2 separate regions of the Homo sapiens genome follow, and region 2 is linked to region 1. Evidence: promoter capture Hi-C in 16 types of primary human blood cells and fetal thymus (Javierre and others, 2016). All regions are on one chromosome and are shown on one strand. The core of a region is centred on a gene start or on the middle of the fragment in contact, and the rest is flanking DNA. Distances in the headings are between cores, read along the strand shown. Region 1 holds the start of CPNE9 (copine family member 9). Region 2 holds the start of RAD18 (RAD18 E3 ubiquitin protein ligase).

Region 1 (5,228 bases), core at 1,557-4,056:
CAAGCTAGTCTCGAACTCCTGACCTGCCTCGGCCTCCCAAAGTGCTGGGATTACAGCCAAGGCTGAGGACTTTCAACAGCTGCAGCGTGCTGCCAGATTTCAGGGGCCTCCTTACTGTTAGGTATAAGACTTCATGCCTCAGCTTGCTCTTCCTGAGGAGTGGAAGCAGAGAGCTGCTGGGGCAAATTCCCTCCTGCTTAGCTACCCTCCTTCCCAGTGATCGCAAAGATAGTTATTTTCACAACAGGTCAGGTCAGGCCAGGCACAGTTGCTCACGCCTGTAATCCCAGTACTGTGGGACGCCAAGGCAGGCGGATCAGTTGAGTCCAGGAGTTTGAGACCAGCCTGGGCAACATGGTAAAACCCTATCATGGTGGCATGTGCCTGTAGTCCCAGCTACTTGAGGGGCTGAGGTGGGAGGATGGCTTGAGGCTACAGTGAGCGCTGATTGTGTCACTGCATTCCAGCCTGGGCAATAGAGTGAGACCTTGTCTCAAGAAAAAAAAAAAAAAGGTTAGTGTCCCAGTAAAAGCTCCTGCTCTAGGTGGGAACAGTAGCCTGAGGGCTTAGAGGAATGGTTTAAGGGAAAACAGGGCCAGATATTTGGGGCCTGAACCACAAGGATAGCATGGCCGTAGGACAGACACTGGCCTTGTACAGTCAGAAGAAGCACAAGGACAGGTGGTATGGAGGGAGGGAGGATGAGGATACTGGGTCCTGTCCCAGGGTAATGTCTTTGTTCTTTCTCTTGACCTCCCCATAGGCTTGCAGCCCTGAGTGATCGAGAGACTCGGCTGCAGGAGGTGCGCTCAGCCTTCTTGGCTGCGTACAGCAGCACAGTGGGGCTTCGGGCAGTAGCCCCCAGTCCTTCCGGTGCCATCGGGGGCCTGCTGGAGCAATTTGCCCGTGGTGTTGGACTCCGGAGCATCAGCAGCAATGCCTTGTGAAGAAGCCAGCCCATGACATTTTCCTGCTCCTCTCTCAGCTGAGCCCTTAGCAGAGAATCAAAGCCATGCCTGGCCGAAGGGGTACTTCCAGGTCAGGGGAAATTTCAGTCCCCCATCTCCATCATGAACATGGCAGCCCCAAAGCTGAGCAAGGCCAAAGACAGGGTTTTCCAACCCCCAGCCTCTTGACTGGTGACCACCACCCCTTCTTGTCACTGTCTCCCACCCACCCCATCTTTGCTGGGATTCCCATCAACTCTCAGAACTGTGTGGGGTTTCCCTGGGGCCTTGTGGAAGCCATGACTTCACAAAGACCCTACCTGTCAGTTCTTGTTTCTGGGGAGGAGGGATCACCTGCACTGAGAATGAGGCAGTTTGACACAGATCACAAAATAAAATCAAAGTCTTTTTGAATAGCCACTCTTGTGTCATCATTTGGTTATTGTCTTTGTGGAGCTACTAGGAAGGTTCTCATTGTCCTTCCTTGTGCTGGACAAGGGGTTTTTATGTGGAGGGCAGGTGAAACAGGAAGAGAACTGGCGACAGGTATACCTCTCCACTCATGAGCCATGGTAGTCCCTGCAGTGGGGACAACACTCAAGACTGTTGAGAGTAGTGGTTCTCGGGCCTAAGCAGGTCCTAGTCACCTAGAGAGCCTGATGAGCTGTGCACATTCCCAGGGCTGCCTGAGCTTTAGCCTTAGGGTTGCTAAGGAAGTTGCCTGGGAATTAGGAGCTGGAGGATCTTCATTTTTTTCAGATTTTTTGAGATGGAGTCTCACTGTTACCCAAGCTGGAGTGCAATGGCACAATCTTGGCTCACTGCAACCCCTGCCTCCTGGGTTCAAGCGATCCTCCTGCCTCAGTCTCCTGAGTAGCTACGTGAACGTGCCACCATCCCCAGCTAATTTTTGTATTTAGTAGAGATGGGGTTTCACCATGTTGGCCAGGCCAGTCTCAAACTCCTGAGCTCAAGTGATCTGCCTGCCTTGGCCTCCTAAAGTGCTGGGATTACAGGCATGAGCCACCGTACCTGACCAGGATCTTCATCTTTAACAAGTTCTGTAGGCAGCAGGGTCCTGGTACGGGTGACCTGCATCCCCTACCTTGAGCCCTGCCTATGGAGGAAGGACTGGCTTCTGAAGCTTTGGAGATAGCAATTGGTGTGCATGTGTGGTGGGTGAGAGCCTGGCTGACCACCACCCTCTTCTACAGTGTAACCTACAGTAGATTGCGTCATGAGAGTGTGTCCGCATCTGTAACGCCATGAAAGTCGTGAGGGTTAAAGGCATGGGCAGACAGCTTTGCACGGTGCTCAACAGCCACCATTTACTGTCATCATTGTGAATACCCAGAGGACAAATCATAAATACCAGTGAATGTTTACTGAGCACTTGCTGTGTGCTAAGTGTTTTCCTTGGGTTATCTCAGTAAAATTTTACAGCACCTAAAGTAGCTGCTGTTAAAGGCCTTTCTGACGGCCTTTCACGGTTGAGCCACAGAGATGTTGAGTAACTTGTCCAAGGTCACACAGCTACTAAGAGATGTACTTTTCCTATTCAGAGACCTAGGCAGGCTGGGAGTGGGAAAAGACAGAAACACTAAGGGAGTGGCTCAGTAAGAGGCAACAATTCCAGTGCCCACCAGGTGCCCCAAATGTTTCAGCATCATGGACAACTCTAGGGGGCTTGGGTTTCCACCCCAGAGACTTGCGCAGGGCAGACTCTACCAAGGTGTGGGTTGGAGTTGGGAGTCGGGGTGAGGTTCCCCGCTGGCTCCAGGCTGCTCCAATGGGGCGGGGGCCGCCCGCAGGGCCGGGCGGGGCTGTGCTGCCATCTGGAGCCGCTGCCGCCGGCGGCCACTGTCAGGGCGCGAGCGGCTGGAGCGCACGCAGGGCTGGAGCGAGTGCAGCCGCCGCCGCCGCCGACACCGCGGCACATGGGCCGGCCCCGCCGCTGCCGTCGCCCCTAGCCCCAGCAGCCCTGGTCTCGCAGCCTCCTGCGGCTCTGGTCGCCCGACCAGCCATGTCTCTCGGCGGAGCCTCCGAGCGCAGCGTCCCGGCCACCAAGATTGAAATTACCGTGTCCTGCCGGTGAGCGGGCCGCGCTGGGGAGGGCTTAGGCACTGGCACTGCCCCAGCCCCAGCCAGCCGCGGGGCTCAGCCTGGGCAGGGGCTAGACCCCCGGGGAGAGGCGAAATTGGCTGGAAAATCACAGCTGATGACAGGGCGAGTAGCTGGTGGGATCGAGAAGCGGGGGGTCTTGGGCAGCCCCACCCCGAAAAAAGGGCTCAGCCTGCGGGTTCAGGGGGTGGGTCGCAGATATCCGGTAGGAGCTCGGCCCCAGGAGGACAAAGTTCTGGGGCGAGCCCTCTTTCCTGGGCCCTTGGAGACAGTGTGGGTGCGTTCGCGTCCAGTCCGCAGAGCCATGGTTCCTGGACAGCGATTTCCGGTGCTGTCCAGAGTGCTGACAGAGCGGACCCCGGCTGGGGGTAGCCATGGGGGACAGAGGTTCGATGCGGGCCCCATGCCTCTCCTCAGTGCCCGGCTCAGAGCCGACTCGAGGCGGGCGGACTCCAGGATGATCCACTCTGTCTGTCTGTTGCTTTTCTCTAGGAACCTGCTAGACCTTGATACCTTCTCCAAGTCCGACCCCAGTAGGCGGCTCCAGGACCGGGAGGGGGAACTTGGGGTCTGGGCGCGACTCAGGGGCGGGTGGAGTCGGGGCCAGGGGTGGGAGCCGACCTGACGTCCTTCCCTCCCCGCCCCCACCTGCAGTGGTGGTGCTTTACACGCAGAGCCGGGCCAGCCAGGAGTGGCGGGAGGTGAGTCCCAGAGCCCCCTCCCGGCCCAGGGCGTCGCCCGGGAATTCCCCTGCCCGTCTGCACGTCCCACGCTGACCCTCCACCCCCCTACCCAGTTCGGACGGACCGAGGTGATTGATAACACGCTGAACCCAGACTTCGTGCGCAAATTCGTCCTCGACTATTTCTTTGAGGAAAAGCAAAATCTGCGCTTCGATGTGTGAGGCCCCGCCTGGAATTCTGGCTTGGCCCGCCCCCGACCTGGATCCGCCCGGAATTCTGGCTGGCCCCACCCCCGCCTCGCCTCCGGCCTGGTTCTTCTCGCAGGCCTCCCTCCCATTCTGAATGGCCCCCTCTAGCCTGAGCCCTGCCCTTTTATGAGATGCGGTCCAGTTCCGTCCCCCGCTCTGGCCCCGCCCACAACTCTGCTCCTATCGCAGCTCCACCTCAGGCCCGACCCCTTCCACACAACCCTGCCCCCAGCAGCCCCTGACTTGGCCTCGGCCCAGGCTTGACCGTCTGACTACTCAGCCCACCCTGACTCCTCCCCAAAAGGAGACCAAAGCTGAATTCGGGTCCACGGCCGCCCATCCCTCCACCCAAAATTTTCACCAAGACTCGGTGCCCGACCCCTTTCCACCCTCTCCCCCACCCAGCCCCACCCCACACCGGTTCCACTCTTTTCCCAGGTACAACGTGGACTCCAAAACCAACATCTCCAAACCGGTGAGCAAACGTTTCCTCGAGGGTTGGCGGAGCGCACAGGAGGCACTTAGATGTGTTCAACGACTCTCAGAACTCCTCCCAACCCTCGACCCAGACCCCATCTTCTTCAGGCCCCCAACCCACCCTCCTGGTCCCTCTCCTCCTGCCTGAGTGTCCTGCCTGTGCCCCCTACTCACTGTTCCTCTTCCTTCTTGGCTGCCACTGCTGGGACCTGCAGAAGGTGAGGCTGAATGGGGCTGGGCAGAGGTTGGGGGTGGGGGTGGTATTGTGGAGAACAGGCTTGGACTGATGACCCACTACAAGGCAGAGATTGCTCGCAGACCCCTTCTTTCACACCCCCTCCATTAAAGCCCATGTAGGGCCGTGGCTCTTGCACCACTCATTCGCCTGGGAACTGCCCTGGTCCTGTGCAGGAGCATCACTGGGGCTAGGCTGGGACTCAGCACTCAAGAGCTTCTGGTCTTGCTGACTCCTTGTCCTGCATAGGATTTCCTGGGACAAGCGTTCCTGGCCCTGGGAGAGGTGATTGGAGGCCAGGGCAGCCGAGTAGAGCGAACCCTCACGTAAGCTGAATAGGAAGGGGTGTGGGAGTGGGGTGGGGGCTTCCAAATTCTCCCTCCCAAGGATGCCGCTGACTGATAGAAGTGGAGGCTGGGGTTGCCCCTGGTCAGGAGCCTGCCCCGGCTCCCATCACCCTCGTAGAAAAGTCCAATTTCCAGTGCTCTGCCCGAGTCAGTATCAGGCCTGATATGTC
Region 2 (4,573 bases), core at 2,074-4,573, 740 kb before region 1:
CTTGACAAATAAATAAAAACTTCTCTCATATGACTCTTATACATTCAGTCTCAGGTTGCCCAAATTGCTTTAGACAGCTAAAGATGATGGCACACCGATTCTTGTGCCATATTGTCATCCCTTCACATAAGGGCTACTGTACTTCTGTTCCACTTCTAATGCGCTTCCAGCTCTTACTCCAAGCCTCCTCCTCTTCAGACTCCAACACCTAGCCTATAGTCACTATTGGGTGAAAGGTGGCCATTGCCACCACACAAGTTAAGAATCAAATCAAAGAATGTTAAAGCCAAACTCCAGAAACTGTCTAGTCAAAAGAGGAAACTGGTATCAAAAGCAGGCACACAATAGTAGGCATCAGTCAAGCCAAGACCAAAATTCCTGTCTCCCGTCTGGCAGTCCAGTGCTTTCGGCATGGTACTACACATGCAGCCAAATGAGGAAGCCTGGAAAGAGCTGGGGCAGTGAAAGCAGAGGAAGGGAAAGTGGACAACTTGGAAAGAGAGATGTGTGCCAACCTGGAATGCAATCCAAACAGGAACGGAACTACTCTGGCAACCTAAAATCTTTCAAATTGTTTAAAATAAAATATTATTCCATTCAACAGAAATATTTTTTAAAAGGAGGAAGCTCTCGACGGGAGGATCGCTTGAGTCCAGGAGGCGTAGGTTGCAGTGAGCCCACATCGCACCACTATACTCCAGCCTGCATGACCGAGTGAAACTGTCTCAAAAAAAAAAAAAAAAAAGAGGAAGCTCTCCATCATACTGATATGAAAAGATTGCCAAGATAAGTGAAAAAAGGAAATAAGGTATAGACAGTACATATACTATGCTACGGTTTGTTTAAAAGGAAGAGGTGAGTAAGAATGTATTCTAATAGGCCTAGCATGGTGGCTCTGTAATCCTAGCACTTTGGGAGGCCAAGGCAGGAGAACTGCTTGAGTCCAGGAGTTTGAGACCAGCCTGGCAAAATAACAAAAATCCATGTCTATAAAAAATTTAAAAATTCGTTGGGAGTAGTGGCGCATGCCTGTAGTCCCAGCTACTCAGGAGGCTGAGGCGGAAGGATTGCTTTAGCCCAGGAGTTCAAGGCTGCAGTGAGCCGTGATTGCCACTGCATTCCAGTCTGGGCGACAGTGAGACCCTATCTCAAAAAAGAAAAAAAGGAAAAAAGAATGCATTCTATTTTCATTGTAAATGTAAATAATGAGAAGATAAACAAGAAGTCATAAATAATGATCAGGGCCAGGAACATGGTAAGAAGGAGACTTTTACTTTTTATTTTATGTGTATTTTGAACCATGTGAACCTATTACCTGAATTTTAAAAATGTAAACAAAAAAGGACTAATGTCGCTAATGGTCCATATGATGAAATATTATGCAGCCATTAAAAAACATGCTTTCAAAGAATAATTAATGCCCTAGGAAAATAAAAATCAGAAAACAAACCTATGCCAATAATACATAATAATAACAACTCTGTAGTTTAATCTTCATAGCAATCTTATGAAGTCCACAGCATCAGTATCCCAATTTTAAAAATAAAGTCTACAGAGTTCCTAAGTTGGCTGGATCAAACCCAAGAAGTTGACTCCACAGTGATCCCAAATTTTAAATGCACAAAAACCAAAGGAAAATAAGGTAAAATGTTAAACACTGGTTCTCTGGGTGGTAGAATTATGGATGGTTTTATTTTTCTCCTTTATCTTATTCTGAATTTTAATTTTTTTCTACCGTGTACACATATTACATTTACAATATGCCAAAAACAGTAAATTTTTGTTAAAGTAAAACCAGGGAAATAATAAAATGCCAAAATCTTCCATTATTGTGGATGGTAAGCTGTCACAGACACAAAAATCTAAAGGGTTATGTTCAAGATCAATTAAGAGCAGAGGCAGGCCCAGAAGCCAGAACCAGTCTATTATATCACACTTTCTTATCTATGCCATCCTCTTCTGGTGGAGGAATGATTCTGAAAGATCTGCAGAGCACAATTGTGGAAGTTGACACTACATCAGATGAGCCATTTCTGGTTCAAATTTCTTGTCATGTCACTCCAAGACAGTAACATGCATATCACATGCGCCTCAACCAACTAAACAAAAAATGATGCCTGAATAGAGAGTGGTCAGCAGACTCCCCAAAATTTCTTTAGTTTAGAGAGAGAGAAAGTGAAAGGGAGAAGTAGAAAATGGGTGGAAAAACGTAATAATTACAAAAATACTCTTAAGTTTTTGGGGTTACAGATCCCTTTGAAAAATGGATGACAACTATGGACTCTCTGCTCAGAAAAACATACATGCAAAAATTTTACAAATAACTTGAGACTCCAAAGTCTTTCTGTGAATCCTAAGTTAGCAACCATGGATTCTGAGTCAGACTTCTATTCAATAAAAGAAGTAACTTCAGTCAGATCTGCTTCTGGGATCTGATAGTTCTTTGTGCCTGGAAGAGTTCAAGCAAAAATTAGGTGAGAAATTGGCAGATGTGTTATAAAGGAGATTAAAATACTGAAAGGGGCTGGTTTTCTAACCTTAAGATTCCATGATTCCAATGTGAGCAAAAAAATACGGGCTCAATCAACTCTCTGGTTGAACACTCACTGAACGCTCTGTGGTGCCAAACTCTACATTCAGTGCTGTGGTGAGATACCAAAGTCAGAGAAGACATGGAACCCGCCTCTAAAGAACACTGAAATTGTGGGAATATGTAAAGTGTGCTTAAATCTACAAAGCAGGAGCTTTACAGGTTACAGAGCTCTTTTACTTTCCTTATCCAAGTCAAGCTTCATGACAACAAATTAAAAGGGGAAAGAAGCACTTAACACAGTGCTAATAATAATAAAATATATTCATTGAATGCTTACTACATTCCAGATACTTTCAATCAAGCAGCAAATAATATTTGAGCACCCACTTGGTGTCAGGCACTGCAGTAAGCACAGTGAATACACAGCAGAATCTGTGCCCACATACATCAACTAATTTATTTAATCAATCCTATGAACTGTTATTTTTGTCTCTAATTTATAGTTGAAGAAATTCAGGCTCAGAGAGGTTAAGTTACTAACCGAAGGTCATACAGTCAAGAGGCAGACAGGAGATTTCACCCAGGACCACTGGAACTCAAATCTGTGCTCTTCTCCACTGCATCCTGGTGCCAAGCCCACAACTCCAAAACTACAGCTTTCCTGGATCATTTCACAATGTCAGCTTCTCATCATGCAGATATCTCAAGTCCCCAAGCACTCTAGACGTCACTGATGACAGCAGGAAGAACAAGGCCTTCTACTTACTTTAGCCTTCACTTAATTCTAAAGTCAAATTTATGAGTCAGTGGGACAGGTATTATAATCCCCAAGTCTACAAAACTGAGGGAGAAGAAGGCTATCTTAGCCACTGTGAGAAACGGAAATAATCACAGAGCAAGAAGAAACACCAAGCAACTGATCTTTATCCAGCACAGCAAAGTGCATCTGCTCTTGAGCAAATCCAGGGCCCACCACTACTGTAAATGGAAACTGGTATGCCTTGCCAAAACAGAAAGTGGCCACAAAAATAAATGTTATTTAAGTGAAATAATCAGACGCAATGCAAGATCAGCGCTGAGCCTGAGTCCTGATCTCTGTTTAAGAGACATGAGCAATTGTTAGAGAAGAGTGAAGGTGTGTTAGAGAGGAGTTGGGGCAGTATGTCAGAACAAACGAGCACTACGTTTATTGAGAATAATCAGAAGAAATGAAAGAGCCTGTAAAGGAGACTACCTGCTTGGCTACGTGATTACATACATGTTATCTGATAAAGTGTCCACCCAAAATCATGTCCGGTGTCACTGTTTAGTGCTTGACACAAAGTAAGCTTTCAGTAAAGAACAGCTGTCGATGTCATTGTTTGGAATAACTGTTTTTCTCCATGTTATTGTTGGGATTGGATCGCAGAATAGCTGGTGCCATAAGACTGCCAACCTCAGCTCACCAGGCTTGTCCTTGTCACTTATCAGAGGAGTAAACTGAGACCCAGAGCCACGCGGTCGGCTAGTGGCAGGGCAGAGCCGGATACCCGGGCCCAGTGCGACGCTCGCGCCTCATCCTTTCTCCTTAAGGCGAGGACATCCTCCTCAAAGGGAGGGACCTCCCCCCGCAGACACCCGGGAGCTCCCAAACTCCCCGAAGCACTCACCTTCATGACTGCCAGGCCCGGAGGCCACCGAGACTCGGCCAGGGAGTCCATGGTCGCTCCCGAGGATGCTGGGGGTCAGCCACCCACTAGCCTCCGGCGCTCCAACACCACTCGAAATTCCCCGCGCTACCGCATTACGTCAGCAGCCCGCGACGCGCCAGAGGCGGGCGCGGAGCCTGCCGGAAGTTGTAGTAGTATGTGGGCGGGGCGCCGCTTAAGGGCTTGTACTGCGCATGCGCCAGGCTTCTGCCGCACTTACCTTGAAGAAAGTGAATGGTTAAAAAGCGTAGAGCCAGTTGAATATTAAGAAAAGATAGCCAGGAATCAAACCAAATCCAGACCTCACCAGATCTGTCAAGGTCCAGGCTCATGACCCCCCTCCGGGTCGCCC

What was found. Contacts are between HindIII fragments. The CHiCAGO score rates a contact against its expected background, and 5 or more counts as called.
Region 2: a fragment that was not itself captured here is called in contact with the fragment with the promoter of CPNE9 in region 1 in 1 of 17 cell types (neutrophils); the score reaches 5.9 in neutrophils.

The regions. Positions count from the first base shown.
Region 1 is chr3:9,701,027-9,706,254 of GRCh38, forward strand. It overlaps CPNE9 (copine family member 9), which reads left to right and starts at 2,807. Exons shown (of 21, transcript NM_153635.3): 1 at 2,807-3,038; 2 at 3,561-3,601; 3 at 3,723-3,769; 4 at 3,865-3,968; 5 at 4,438-4,474; 6 at 4,692-4,694; 7 at 4,961-5,037. The coding sequence starts at 2,971. It overlaps MTMR14 (myotubularin related protein 14), which reads left to right. Exons shown (of 19, transcript NM_001077525.3): 19 at 764-1,367. The coding sequence ends at 947. RefSeq lists an enhancer at 2,446-3,356. The HindIII fragment of the contact is 18,760 bases long and covers 2,090-5,228 here.
Region 2 is chr3:8,959,153-8,963,725 of GRCh38, forward strand. It overlaps RAD18 (RAD18 E3 ubiquitin protein ligase), which reads right to left and starts at 4,320. Exons shown (of 13, transcript NM_020165.4): 1 at 4,183-4,320. The coding sequence starts at 4,233. RefSeq lists an enhancer at 4,168-4,337. The HindIII fragment of the contact is 1,072 bases long and covers 2,788-3,859 here.